Linked DNA regions of Homo sapiens: all the other regions are linked to region 1. Evidence: promoter capture Hi-C in human tissues and cell types (Jung and others, 2019). All regions are on one chromosome and are shown on one strand. Each heading gives the region's core, a stretch centred on a gene start or on the middle of the fragment in contact. The rest is flanking DNA. Distances are from core to core; before and after follow the strand shown. Region 1 holds the start of TNFRSF10D (TNF receptor superfamily member 10d). Region 2 overlaps LOXL2 (lysyl oxidase like 2). Region 3 overlaps LOXL2 (lysyl oxidase like 2).

Evidence for each region. Contacts are between HindIII fragments. The study calls those that stand out against the background at their distance.
Region 2: a contact is called between a fragment that was not itself captured here and the fragment with the promoter of TNFRSF10D in region 1, in 1 of the 25 tissues and cell types used here (spleen).
Region 3: a fragment that was not itself captured here is called in contact with the fragment with the promoter of TNFRSF10D in region 1 in 1 of the 25 tissues and cell types used here (mesenchymal stem cells).

The regions. Positions count from the first base shown.
Region 1 is chr8:23,161,462-23,166,525 of GRCh38, reverse strand. TNFRSF10D (TNF receptor superfamily member 10d) reads left to right here and starts at 2,499. Exons shown (of 9, transcript NM_003840.5): 1 at 2,499-2,740. The coding sequence starts at 2,591. RefSeq lists an enhancer at 2,642-2,761. The HindIII fragment of the contact is 7,003 bases long and covers 1-4,608 here.
Region 2 is chr8:23,297,957-23,302,679 of GRCh38, reverse strand. It overlaps LOXL2 (lysyl oxidase like 2), which reads left to right. Exons shown (of 14, transcript NM_002318.3): 12 at 517-653; 13 at 3,733-3,844; 14 at 4,558-4,723. The coding sequence ends at 4,637. Among named protein-coding and RNA genes, the nearest start is that of R3HCC1, 12 kb to the right of the region's middle. RefSeq lists enhancers at 98-598, 599-1,099. The HindIII fragment of the contact is 3,041 bases long and covers 1,488-4,528 here.
Region 3 is chr8:23,397,727-23,402,370 of GRCh38, reverse strand. The region is part of intron 1 of LOXL2 (lysyl oxidase like 2); the gene reads left to right. Among named protein-coding and RNA genes, the nearest start is that of LOXL2, 4.1 kb to the left of the region's middle. The HindIII fragment of the contact is 7,857 bases long and covers 1-4,644 here.

The DNA.
Region 1 (5,064 bases), core at 1,250-3,749:
TCACGAGGTCAAGAGATCGAGACCATCCGGGCCAACATGAAGATCCCTCGTCTCTACTGAAAATTCAAAAATTAGCCAGGCGTGGTGGCATGTGCCTGTAATCCCACCTACTCGGGAGGCTGAGGCAGGAGAATCGCTTGAACCCAGGAGGCAGAGGTTGCAGTGAGCCTGGATCGTGCTGCACTCCAACCTGGCAACAGAGTGAGACTCCATCTCAAAAAAAAAAAATCCATTTTGTAATAGAACTCTTCTGGGACTGGCCTCCCCGTTAGAGCTTTTCCAAGATTCCTGAAGACATCATCAGTTTTTCAGGTTTCAAGATTATTTTATGTCCTTCAGTGACAGGGGAGACTTCAGTTAGTGTTCCATCTCAAGCTAGTAAGTGCCTCTTAAGTGGAAACTTGACTCTAAAGGCCCAGTTCCTTGGAGGTGCTCACAGCCTTTTGCCATTAGCCCTAGTCAGTGCTCCACACAGGGCACAGAGAATGCGTTGTTACCTGCAGTCTGGTTTCTGGTCTATACTGTGTGGTCCACCCTCCAGGGCCAAGGGAGCTAAGGTGCTCTAAGGACTTTCCTGCAGGCCCTGGTGGCTCTGTGTTAATGCTGTCAGTCTTCCTGAAGTCCCTGACCTTTCACCTCCTGCCTGGATCTGCACCCCGCACACATTCCTGACCCCACACATTTCTCATTGCCTGGGTCCTGGCACACATTTCTGACCCTAGCTCAGTGTCTGGGGCCTGGCACACATTTCCGACCCTAGCTCAGTGCCTGGGGCCTGACACACATTTCTGACCCTAGCTCAGTGCCTGGGGCCTGACACACATTTCTGAGTCTAGCTCAGTGCCTGGAACCTGGCACACATTTCTGACCCTAGCTCAGTGCCTGGAACCTGGCGCACATTTCTGACCCTAGCTCAGTGCCTGGGGCCTGACACACATTTCTGACCCTAGCTCAGTGCCTGGGGCCTGACACACATTTCTGAGTCTAGCTCAGTGCCTGAAACCTGGCGCACATTTCTGACCCTAGCTCAGTGCCTGGGACCTGGCACACATTTTTTTTTCTTTTTTTTTTTTTTCACAGAGTCTCGCTCTGTCACCCAGACTGGAGTGCAGTGGCACGAATCTCGGCTCACTGCAACCTCCATTTCCTGGGTTCAAGCAATTCTCCTGCCTCAGCTTCCTGAGTAGCTGGGATTACAAGTGCCCGCCACCACGCCCAGCTAATTTTTGTATTTTTAGTAGAGATGGGGTTTAACTATGTTGGCCAGGCTGGTCTCGAACTCCTGACCTCTTGATTCGCCCACCTCAGCCTCTCAAAGTGCTGGGACTACAAGCGTGAGCAACCGCGCCCGGCCCTGGCTCACATTTCTGACCCTAGGTCATTGTCTGGGCCCTGGAAGGTGCTCAGGGTGATCCATCGCTCAAATCCAAGCCTGTGGAGAGGATGACATTTCATTCCCAGGTTTCTCATGAGCCAAAAAACCTTCATTTCTATAGCGCTATCCTCTTCTATCTACCATGTGAGGGGTCAGGAGCCGACTCATCCCAAGGGTCTAGGAGTCCTGCCATTGACCTTACTGCTTAGGGTCACAAGCTGGCACCCTTCAAAACCACACATTGGGTCTGCCCTCACAGCGGCAGTGTGTTCAACTGGATGGGGAGGTAAGTAGCCCAAGGTCAGACAGTTGGACCTGGGTAGACAATAGACTTGGGGACAGACTTTGGAAGGCACTCCCCTGATTCCCCTGTCTCCATGGGGCCTCAATACTAGAGCCCTCAAGGTTGGTCAGGGAGTGTTTGTGCTTTGACCATGCAAAGGGTGCCAGGTTGTGGCTAGGGATGCCCCCGGCGTTCCTCTCCCTCCTACCTACTCCTCAGCCTCTGCAGGTGCCTGTCATGGCCTCTGTGTCCTTCATTCTGTCCACTCATGTGTTCACTGGGCCCCTCCTTGGTGCCAGGCACCCGCTACTGAGGGATACCAAGCCCCTGCCAGAGAAGCTTGGAGCTGGGTCACAGCAGCAAGGAGGCTGGAGACATCAGTGGCATCAGTGCACTGGTCAGTGAGGCCGCTGTGGGAGGAGGGAGTGGGAGCAGAAGCTAAGAGTGGACTGAAGTCCTGAGGCCAGGAAGTAGTTCAGGGTTTAAGAAGAGGAGAGACAGGCGGCCCGGGGAGGGAGCAGGCTCAGGATGGGCCTCCAGTGCCTCCTCTGGAGCTCACTACCCAGACTACAGCAGCGCAGCGGGCAGCGCCTCAGCTCCTTCCCCTTCTGCTGCCTACAGCCTGGACAGGACCCGGAATCAAACCGCAGGCCCTGGGTCACCGCTGCCGGAAAGAGCCAGTTCCTGTCCGTCCATGCACCCACCCACACAACCTGGGCCCTCCTGGAGGTGCTGGGGGAGACCCAGCCTGAGTGCCTGGAAGTGACTGCGGGAAGGGAGTACAACTGACCACGCCTTTTTTCCGGGGTATAAAAGCGGAGGAGCACGTTCTATTCTGGCAGTGTAGCTGCGAGAACCTTTGCACGCGCACAAACTACGGGGACGATTTCTGATTGATTTTTGGCGCTTTCGATCCACCCTCCTCCCTTCTCATGGGACTTTGGGGACAAAGCGTCCCGACCGCCTCGAGCGCTCGAGCAGGGCGCTATCCAGGAGCCAGGACAGCGTCGGGAACCAGACCATGGCTCCTGGACCCCAAGATCCTTAAGTTCGTCGTCTTCATCGTCGCGGTTCTGCTGCCGGTGAGTCTCCGCCGCGGTCCCTGGCTGGGGAAGAGCGCACCTGGCGCCGGGAGTGGGCAGGGAGAGAGGGGGACACGGTGGGGATGCTTGGCCCGGGTCGCCTGCGGCCGGGCATGTCTGGGCAGGACGAACCCGCCGTCGGAGTCAGGGGAAGAGTGGGGTGCCCGGGCTGGGCAGGAGCGACCGGGCCGCGAGGGAGCAGAGCGCGCGCTCCCCCTGGCTGTCCCGTGCGGCGAGGACCGCACTGAGCTGCCCCAGAGGAAGTTCCAGAATCAGCGGAGGGAGGGAGTCAAGATGGAAACCCCGGAGTGAACCTCAGGAAGCCACAGAGCGGTTGCCTCTTTCGTTCGTTCGTTCGTTCGTTCGTTCATAACGTTAACCCAGGCCGGTCGCGGTGGCTCACGCCTGTAATCCCAGCACGTTGGGAGGCCGAGGCGGGCGGATCACCTGAGGTCAGGAGTTGGAGACCAGCCTAGCCACCATGGTGAAACCCCGTCTCTACTAAAAATACAAAAATTAGCCGGACGTGATGGCGGTCGCCTGTAATCCCAGCTACTCGGGAGGCTGAGGCAGAAGGAGAATCACTTGAATCCGGGAGGCGGAGGTTGCAGTGAGCCGAGATCGCGCCATCGCACTCCAGCCTGGTCAACAAGAGCGAGACTCCGTCTCAAAAAAAAAAAAAAAAAAAAAAAAAAAGTTAGCCAGGCGTGGCAGCCTGCGCCTGTAGTCCCAGCTACTCAGGAGGCTGAGGCAGGAGAACTGCTTGAACCCGGGAGGCAGAGGTTGCAGTGAGCCGAGATTGCACCACTGCACTCCAGCCTGGGCGACAGAGCGAGACTCTGCCTTAACAAAAACAGACAAACAAACAAACAAAATTAACCCTATGTTTACACTGTTACACGTGTTTCTTGGAGATCAGTTTAACAAACAGCCTGTGAAAAAGCTTTCCAACGCTGTTTTTTGTAACTTTCATTTCCTATAGAACCCTGAAAGTGGCAGGAAGCGGTTAACCAAGGTGCTTGCAGTCAGTGTCTTCCACTGCCACCCGTGTGTCCCCTCTGTATCCCATAGGCAGGACCGCGGGATGGCCCCTTCCTTAGGCATAAAAGATGTAAAGTTCTCGTTGTGAGTTGGGTTTGGAAACTGAGATTGGTAGTGGGGTGCACAAGAAGGACATAAAAATAAGATGTGCAGACTGCCAGGACTTTTTCTGAGTGACTGACGTTTCTGCCAACAGTGCTTTCTAAGGTTTCTTACGTAATACCAAAAAACAAAACGGGGAGGATAAAACAAGATTACATGAACCATGAGAGTCTCCATGTTTTCTTTCAACGAAGTAATACTAAATTCAGAACAGCAGTGACATTTTCACCTCTCAAAAATTACACAACTGACTTCTACAATAGTTTATAGTGGGTGGACCTACCTGAGGCAGCTAGAAGAATGGCTGTGTCAGGACAGTGGCCCTGAAGAGAGAATGTGTGGATGACCTGTGTAGACAAGACCAGCAACCTGAATTTCACAGTTTTGGGAATGTGAACTCTATGCGTCCCAAAGGAGGCTTTGATCCCTCCATCAATCTTGCCTTATTAAATGCATTTCAATGCACAGTTGCTTTTTAAAATTTTGGAGCTAGCACAAATCACATTAGATGTTTTATGGCAGTACATTCAGATTGATTTTCTTTTAAACAAGGGTATTGTATTTTACTACATGGGTAAGCCACAGGTTAATTCACTGTTGCCATCTAGAGGCAGCTGGTTATATCCCATCCCGATGGGATATAACCCAAAGCAAATTTGCCTTTGCTAATTCCAACAGCATTGTACTAAATACCCTTGTATGTATCGTGTGTCCACATGTCCATGCGCACCAGCTTATTGGGCAACTCCTTAGAAGTAGAATTTTACTTCTACTTCCGTGGGATAAATCATTTCAGAAGTTTCTTTAGATGTTTACGAATTTTCTTCCAAAAGACCATTGAACTCAGCTTACACTCACACCTAGTTCACACATGTGCCTGTATCCCTACACCCTTGTTACACTTAGCTTTCATTCGTTGCTAGTCTAGGAAGTAAAAGGTGATTCATCACATTGTTATGTACTTTCATTCCTTAATGGTATTAGGAATTTTCAAGGATACGGGAGTTTTGGTAGTGGGAGTAGATGACCGGGGGATCCAGATGAGACAGCAGGGGAGGGTGGCAGGGAAGACTGAATTCCCAGCTGTGAACTTGGAGAACCGTGGTCAGCTGGGGCCAGTCCCTGCCACCTGCCACGCCTGTAAATGGAGATAAGGTCTCCATCTTCAGGCTGTCAGGAGG
Region 2 (4,723 bases), core at 1,759-4,258, 140 kb before region 1:
AAATGCGTGTTTAATTTGTTATTCATTGAAGCGGCCCGCCACTGACTTGCCGTGAAATCACACAGCAGACAGGTGTTGACCTCTTACCATGTGCAGATAACATGTAAGTGTCAGAGAGACATGGGCCTACACTCTAATTGCCGATCCTCCAGAGGAGACAGACAGTATGACCCCCCACGTTTTGCTAAACCACAGGCACCAGAGATTTCCTCGGTCCACACACACGCAGTTATCCCCAGGCTGAGGATGTCACAGAAAGGCCAGGGTGGATCAGAGTGGTCAGGGAGGGCTTCATGGAGGAAGGGGAACTTGAGCCTGGCCTGAGAGAAGAGGCAGGATGTGGGTAGGGAATTGAGTGGGGGGTTCTACTGAAATGAGAACAGATGAGCAGCCCACACAGTGGGGTGGGATGCCGAGCCCAGATGAAGCAGCGGTAGGGGCCTTGGAAGCAGGAAGAGGGTGCGGCAGTGGGGCCATGGTTCCCTGGTGATGAGCTCTCCTCTACCCTGCCCGCAGACATCCAGAAGAATTACGAGTGTGCCAACTTCGGCGATCAGGGCATCACCATGGGCTGCTGGGACATGTACCGCCATGACATCGACTGCCAGTGGGTTGACATCACTGACGTGCCCCCTGGAGACTACCTGTTCCAGGTGAGGTGGGTGGGAAGGGGTTCCAGCCCTGCAGGGGGAGGAGGGGAGGCCACCTCCACAGGCTCCTTCCCATTGGTGTCCACACAGGGGCATGGAAGTCAGGCTGTCTAAAGGGCAAGGTGCTACCCCCAGAGGCCATCACGGTCCATCAGTTAACCCAAAGATATCAGGCATGGGGGCCTGAGAAATAGGGCGTGCACAGGACCAGAGACACCACAGGCATTCACATTTGATTGAGTTAACACCTGGTGCATGCAAATCAAAACTCATCAGCAGGCTAGATTTGCTCCTCCGGCCAGTTTATTCCATACATGCTCAGGCAACCCACACCTCTTGTCTCCTATGGAGCTCTTGTCTCCACCATCCCCATTTCTCCTAGTGCCCTAGGCTGCCTTGGTCTGTGCTTTCAAGACTGAAAGCAAACTCATAAAGAGCCAGTCACTTGCAAATATCTGTGACTTAGCTCTTCCGGAAATATCTGCCTCATAGAGGAGGATCTGCAGAAGGGGCCATTCTCAATGCAAAGTGAATCTATAAGAATAAAATACTGAACACGAGACACAGCCTGGCCAGGTGACTTCTTTGTCAGAGGGGTTGCCGAGATTTGTTTCCACATACTCTGGGTGGAAGGCCAGCCCTGAGGAGGAACAAGGGGGCCTTGGCTTCCCTCCTTCCTGAAAACAGCGGCATGTTCTGGCCAGGGCTCTAACTGGGGGAGAAAAGGGGCATTGTGTCCCTAGTGTCTCTCCCAGTGCACGGGTACACGTAGCCTGCAGAAGCTTTATCTCACCCTCTCACTCTCTCCTACGTCCTCACCCATCTCGTTTTCCAGCTTGCCCTGTTGGCTAGCAAAGTGGATGACCAGAAATGTGTCATTCCACCTTGAAAGCTTTCCTGAGGGGGCATTCAGCCAGCCCAGGGCCTGGCCCACGGTCCCCACCTACAGACAGTCCTCTGAAGAAACAACACCTTCAGAGAAGTCACCACAGAGGGGCTTTCAGAGAATTCCTGGGCAGTTTCAGAGGCTGGAAAGCAGACAGCCAAGCACTTTTCCACCCACAAGCCCAGAACCACAGACTTGGAGAGGCCTAACCAGAGAGTTATTTATTTTAAAAGATGAATAGCCGTGGCCATGTGCACGTATACAGTGCCTGGTGGTTTCTGTTTGAGGTTTGCTATCATTTTGCTGGGTGAGTGTGTATCTCCCTGTATTCTGGCCAGTGCCATCCACTTAATAACTACTATCAATTGCCTAAGCCTGGGGAATGCATTGTTTGATTTAATCTCCCAAGGAAGGGGCATCATCATTACCCTCATTTCACGGCCACCCAACCCCAGACATATCAACTCTTTATTTTGTTTTCTCAACCCCTAAACAATACAATTAGCAAATGGACTCATTAGGGGCATGTTAATACCTCTGATTAATCAAAAAGAACATTCCCCTTAAGATAGACATGGAGCTTCTTTAGGTGCCACAAGCACCGGCCTGGGGACTCACGGGACACAAGAGGTGGTCTTCACTTCAGACATCAGTGGTGCTGTGAAGGACAGGAGGAGGGAGCTGGGCGAGGAGGAAGTGACCGTCCACGCAGAGGGACCTGTGCAGAGCTCAGAGGCAGGGGTGAAGGGGCCTCCTGGCTCCTGGTGGCCCCGCTTTATCCGCTTTCTCATCATTTCCTAGATTCACAGACATACAGAAACCTAAAGCCACTTCCCGCAGGCCCTCGTGAGATGTCGGTCTGCAGTAGATGAGTGGGGTGAAACAGTGGGGGACACACATTTCCAGCCCCGCCTCCACCCCACACGTAACACTGGCCCTCGTGTCCCCAACACGAGCCCTTGCTGCATCCAGCCGCCCTCACGGCTGCACTGTCGAGACGCCTGGGCGGCCAAGGAGCTGCCTAGGCCTGCACAGCTGGAGGCCTTGGCATGTGGAGCTGTGTTTGCCCCATGCCATGTGTGGGCCAGGAACGAGGGGGCAGCTAGAATGGTTGGGTGGAAAAGAAAAAACTCAAGCCGCCCCGGAGCAGGGCATGTACCTCCTTAGCTAAAGGCACAGGGCCCCAGCGGGACACAGCTGAGCCAGGTGCAGGCCCCCAGAACAGCCCCGCTGGGCCAGAGCAGAGGGCCGGCTGCCAGGCTGGCCTTGGCTTCCCACAGCACCTCTTTGGGCAAGCCCAGCGGCCTGCTAAAGGTTCGTGTCCAGGCCCTTCTGGGGCCCCAAATTTAGAGAATGTTCCTGAACGAGCAGCCTGTACCCGCCCCCCTGCTGTGGGTCGCAGCCCTTCCAAATGTGGCAGGACCCTCGAGGGAAGGCCTGTCATCTGTGTCCTCTGCCCCTCTGTTCACCACTGTTGTCTCTTCTCCCTCTCCCTCCCTTTCTCTTTTCTCCTCGGGTCCTCACCGTAAACCTCCCCTTTTCTGTTCCCTCACAGACACTCTCCCAGAATATGTCCTTCCTATTCCTGCTGTAGCTGGGGGGATGCGGATACAGGGGTGGGTGGAAGGATGGGGAGAGGGTGCAACTTCTCCAGCAGCCCCAGAGCCAGGCCCTCGGCCAGCAGAGCAGACAGGGACATGGATCCCCAAGTCCCACCTGTCACTTTACAGAGAGAGGAAGGGACATGTCCACAGTCACACGCCTGTGACGAGTGTCCCATCTCCAACGCCCAGGCAGCCCTCTTCCAGGTTCCCACACCGCCAGGTCCTCCCTGCACCCTTCTGCTTCTCTTCAGCATCTTCTTTTTGGGGCCTCCCCAGACCCCAACTTCTGCCTTCCCCAGAACTCCCAGGAGTGGGTGACCCCCTTCCGAAGGCCCACCCTGGGTAGAGGGGTGTGTGTTACACGGATATGGACAGAGGGCAGGGTTTCCCTCTTCCAGGCCATGCTTCCTCTGCTCCCTGACTCATCTCTTCCCCTCCCCAAGGACTTTGTTGAGACCCACAGACCCCCGTCTTGGGTCCCGGCACCTGCCACGCTCCCCTTCCCTGAGGTGCTGGTCTCTCAGAGCCCCAGGCCTGGGTGGAGGTGGCCGCAGAGGGAACAAGCAGCCTCCTCTGCCCTGCTTCTCCCTAGGTTGTTATTAACCCCAACTTCGAGGTTGCAGAATCCGATTACTCCAACAACATCATGAAATGCAGGAGCCGCTATGACGGCCACCGCATCTGGATGTACAACTGCCACATAGGTAAGGCCAGGCCGCCCCCACTCCAGGAAGCAGGCGGGAGCTGCCCTACTTTCTCAAGGACCCAGAGGCAGCTTCCTAATTTGGGTAAAGAGCTCGGGGAATGCAGCCAGCATCACATTTCCACATTCAGGACAGAAGCCACAGACACACAGGCCTGGATGGAGACTGAGTTTTTACAGCCAGCTCCGGCCACGGATAGAGGATGGTACAGGACCAGGCCAGCCCAGTGCAGACCCCAAGGCTTTTTAAGGGTTGGAGCTGAGGCCACTGGCTCATTATGTATGTGACCTCAAAAATGTGGGCATCAGCAATCTGTGGGCTCTGCCTATCAGGTTTTTCTGTCGAGAGCTGGAAGCTAGCAAACTACTGTTATTTCTAGTCTCCAATAAAGACACTTTTTTCCTTGGATGATAGGACTTGGGGAACAAAAGGGAAGGCAGAGCTTTTTCCTCTGCAGGAAAAGTCATGGGCCTCACTCTTGGCAAAAGGTTAAAATTAAAGGCGCTATATTTATTCACTCGTTCACTCAACTTTGACAGAGCACCTGCTATGTGCCCAGCCCTAGAGATGGCCAGTGCCTGGCACCTGTCCTTTTGAGGAGGGCACACACAGGTGGCCCCAGCAGCCCCTGAGGCCCACTCCCCTGGCTCAGGGTCAGGCAAGGCCCGAGCATCTCATTTGTCCACTCTCTCTACCCGATTCTCGCTCTTCAGGTGGTTCCTTCAGCGAAGAGACGGAAAAAAAGTTTGAGCACTTCAGCGGGCTCTTAAACAACCAGCTGTCCCCGCAGTAAAGAAGCCTGCGTGGTCAACTCCTGTCTTCAGGCCACACCACATCTTCCATGGGACTTCCCCCCAACAACTGAGTCTGAACGAATGC
Region 3 (4,644 bases), core at 561-3,060, 240 kb before region 1:
CTCCCCAAGGAAATTGAGTCTCACTAATCTGTGTGTGCACGCGCGCACGTTTGTGTATGCATGTGTGCACGTGTATGTGTGGGCACATGTATGTGTGCATGTGTGTGTCTCCACACGAGTGTGTTTGTGTATGTGTGTGCACCGGTGTGTGTTTATATGCGCACACAGGTGTGTGTGCGCGGGCACGTGTGTGTGCACGCAATGTGTGTGCATATGTATTCCTGTGTGCATGTGTGCACACCTGTATGTGTATATGTGTATTTGTGTTTGTGTGCATGTTTGCATGTGTATGTGTGTGTGCGCGTTTGTGCACTTGTGTGTATGTGTGTGCACGCATGTGTGCACGTGTGTATATGTATATGTGTGTTTGTGCATGCATGTGCATTTGCTTCCCTGTAACTTTGTGTTAGAAAGTGACTTAGTCTAAGGTCACTTAGGCATTGAGTGGCAAAGTTGAGTATGAAACTCAGGTCTGAAAACAAAACGTACTTAACACCACACATTGGCTGACATTTTAAGTATCACAGATAGGAGATTCTGCAAAGATGCTTCCTTTTATTTTCTTTCCAACTGGCCTCTCCTGGCCTCTTCCCAAGTCCTTGTCCTTTGACCTCTAGATGGCCAGTGTGGAAGGGCTTTGTGAAGGAAACAGATTTTCTGTGCTCTAGATAGACATGACCATCAGCGAAGGTGTTGAGTCCCAGAAAACACTACATTGTTTATTTTTTATTCTCAAAAAATTTCAAGTATGCAAAAAAAGTAGAGAGAAGGGTATAATGATGCCTCATAAGCTTCTCACTGAATTTCAACAGTTATTTTGCCACATGTACGTCATCTGTCCCTTTGTTTCTGTCATTGAAGTAGTTTAAAGCAAATCCTATACATCATGTCATTTCATTGCTACATATTTCAGTGTGATTTCTAAAGATTTTACATAACTATGATGCCATATTTAGACCTAAGAAAACTAAAAAAAAAATATTTGGTATCATCTAATGCCAAATAGCAGTCTATATTTAAGCATTTCCCAATTTTCCTCAAAATGTCTTTTTTTATAGTTGATCTGAGTTCTGTTGATTTGTGTAACTTGTTACATTCCTATTGTTATGTTCTTCCTTTCAAACTACTTTTCTGTCCACTATGTCATTTGATTCTTACAAGGTCCCACTAAAGAGTTAGGTGAGTATTTTCAAATTCATTTCTCAGCTGAGGAAATGGATAAACAGATAAGCTGTCCAGAGGGCACAGCTGGTGACCCAGGGAGCCAGGGTCTAACCCAGCCTCCTCATGGCTGGGCTTCGGTGGTTCTGGTTCTCCATGTTACTCGTGGACTCTCAGCTGCTCTCTGAAGAGTTCTTCTTGGCTCAGGCTTCATCCTGGGCTTATCACTTCCTATACACCTGCTGTCAGAAATCCCTGTGTAAATATTAGTAATTGGACATTTGGTGCTTGAGATAAATGAACTGCAAAATCAGGAAGCCAGGGTTTGTTTCCTAGCTCATTGCAAAACTGTAAGGGCTCAGAGCTGCCCTCTCTGAACTAGAGAGCAGTGTACTTCCTCATTATTTGACTCCAAGGTGTAAAAATAGGATGAGTGAAATGACTGTTGCTGGGATTCCTGGAAGAAACAAAGGCCCCAGAAAGAAATCTAGTAGAGGACAATCTCCCCTCTCTGAGCATCACCTGAGTACTCTGACAGCTGGTACCTTCATGCTGAAGCCCTCAAATCCTATGACAGAGAAGTAGGGGTATATAGGCTTCCCATTGAAGCCCTTAGTTTATGCATGACTTTATTCTGCATTTGACCAATGAAGATATGCAACACCTGATATGGCTTGGCTGTGTCCCCACCCAAATCTCATTGTGAATTGTAGCTGTCATAATTCCCATGTGTTGTAGGAAAGACCCGATGAAAGGTAATTGAATCATGGGGGTAGATCTTTCCCCTGAGAAGTAAATCTCGTGAGATATGGTTTTATAAATGGGAGTCCCCTGTACATGCTCTCTTGCCTGCCACCATGTAAGATGTTCCTTTGCTCTTCCTTTGTCTTCTGCCATGATTGTGAGGCCTCCCCAGCCATGTGGCATTGTGAGTCCATTAAACCTCCTCCCTTTACAAAGTACCCAGTCTCGGGTATGTCTTTATTAGCAGCATGAGAACAGACTAATACAACACCAGAGCCTTCTGCTTTTAGCATTTTCATTACTTAAGTTTATTTGCTTTTGAAATGGAGCGAAGAAGAAATTTCTCCACCTTGTTAATGAGACTCATAAGTTGGAATTCTCCTTTCTTGGCAGATCATGTGGGAAAAAGGAATCTCTTGGCACAGGACTCCTAGATGTTCTGCTGTTACGCTTGTTGCTTTGAAACAGGGAATGAACAGACCTTCCATAAAATAGCCAGTTAGAGGCAGAGAAACTGGTCAACCCGATTCCATCCAACGGGAGGAACTCCGAAGTGGCAAGACATTAACCTTAAATCACCCTGCCTTCTGACGGCCATAGATTCTTTTTCCTTAGCTAATAGGCTGTCTCCATGGAGGAAGAATTTCTAGGTGATTCCACACCAGCAGCTGCAGTTGCACAAGCATGACTGCTTCCTTCATTTTAAAGTTTGGGGAGCCTTAGGAGGTGTTTTAGTCCATTTTCTGTTGCTTATAACAGAATACCTGAAACTCGGTAGTTTATTAAACAAAAGGAATTTAGTTCTTACAGTTATGGAGACTGAGAAGTCCAAAGTCCAGGAGCTGTACCTGGTGAGGGCCTTCTTGCTGGTGGGGACTTGGCAGTATCCCAAGGTGATGCAGGACCATCGTGAGGGGGCTGAGCATGATAACATGCTAGCTCAAGTCTCTTTTCCTCTTGTAAAGCCACCAATTCCCTTCCCATGATAACCGATTCATCTATTAATTGGTGAATGGATTCATCAGTTTATGAGGGCAGAGCACTCATGATTCAACCACTTCTTAAAGGCCCCACCTCTCAAAACTGCCACATTGGGGATTAAATTTCAACATGAATTTTTTGGAGGGACACCTATTCAAACCACAGCAGGAGATATGATTTCCCATTCCCAGGGGCTGCCTGGCTTTAAAAGAGCAGCTTGTTACTGTCATCGTCCATTTCCCCCTGGAGAAAGGCTTTTGTGGTCGGTCTGCATGGCAGTCACACCCTGGGTGGTCCATGAGGCCTCAGATGAAGTGGCCCGAGGCCACTCTGCTCTAGGCCCACAGACAAGGCGGGAATAGCAGTTGCAGGCTAGAAAAGGAAGGGCCAACCAGACATTCACAGAGATGCAACCAGAGCAACACACAGCTGAGTCTCTTAAGTCTTCAGTCCTGTGTAAGTTGAAGCAAGACATCAGAAATCTCTCACCTGAGTAATTCCACACATGCACCCACTGCTGTCCAATGCAGTGCTTGCTCAGCAGGGAGCACCTCTTGGCCAAGCGTATTGGCAGCCCTTCTACCGTGACCAGCGTCAGGGACGTCTCTAGGCGCCTTTTCAGAATAGCTGGCAACATAGGGAGACCCAGTCTCTACCAAAAAAAAAAAATTAGCCAGGCATGGTATAGTCCCAGCTACTCAGGAGGCTGAGGCAGGAAGATTGCTTGAGCCCAGGAGGTCAAGGCTATAGTGCATTCCAGCCTGGGTGACAGAGTGAGACCCTGTCTCAAAAACAAAGAAAGAATAGCCACTTGGTTGATGATGATAAAGGATGCTGGGGACTGTGTAGTTCAGACTTCTGTCCAGAGTTTTAACAAATCTTTTGCACTTTCTGTGGCAGAAATACTATTACCAGGCAAGTAGTGTGTGTGGCAGATGAGAACAAGAACTAACTCAGCAGATGCTGAGGTTGTGGTTAGGAACACAGTTAGTAGGTTCTTCTTGTCCAGGGCTTTTGATCCCTTCACTTGGGATACCTTAAGTATTATATTTAATTATAGTCTTCTAAGCAAAGAGTGATGTTTTCTTTTTAGTTTTTTCATTCCTACGATCCACGTCAGACAAGCAGACACAGCTGGCCCTCTGGATGTCCTGTGGCAACAGACATATCCTCCTTGATGTGTTGCCAACAAAGTGCTGAGGGTATCTTCTGCAAAAATGATGCCACTTGCCTATAAAACATACACTTACGACAAGATAACTTATGGTGATGACTTGTGAACAACTTAATTTGCAGTTTCTTTATAATATCTTTCTGGAACTTGGATCCATGAACTTCTTTTGCCCCCAGGCTTGTCCTGATATACCACTGGGGTACCAAGGTAAACACAGTATAGCTCTTCAGAGTGCCTGCATGACTCGAAGATGTAGTGAGAAAGATACTTTTCTAAATATCTTTCTAAAACAATTACAAATATAAAATTGAGTAAAGCACATTTCTTTTTTTTTTTTTTTTTTTTTTTTTGAGACAGAGTCTTACTCTGTCACCCAGGCTGGAGTGCAGTGGTGCAATCTCAGCTCACGGCAACCTCCACCTTCCAGGTTCAAGAGATTCTCCTGCCTCAGCCTCCCGAGTAGCTGGGATTACAGGCATGCACCACTATGCCCACGGAAAAGCATATTTCTTTCTTTTTTTTTTTTTTTTTTGAGACAGAGTCTTGCTCTGTTGCCCAGGCTGGGAGTGCAGTGGCGCGATCTC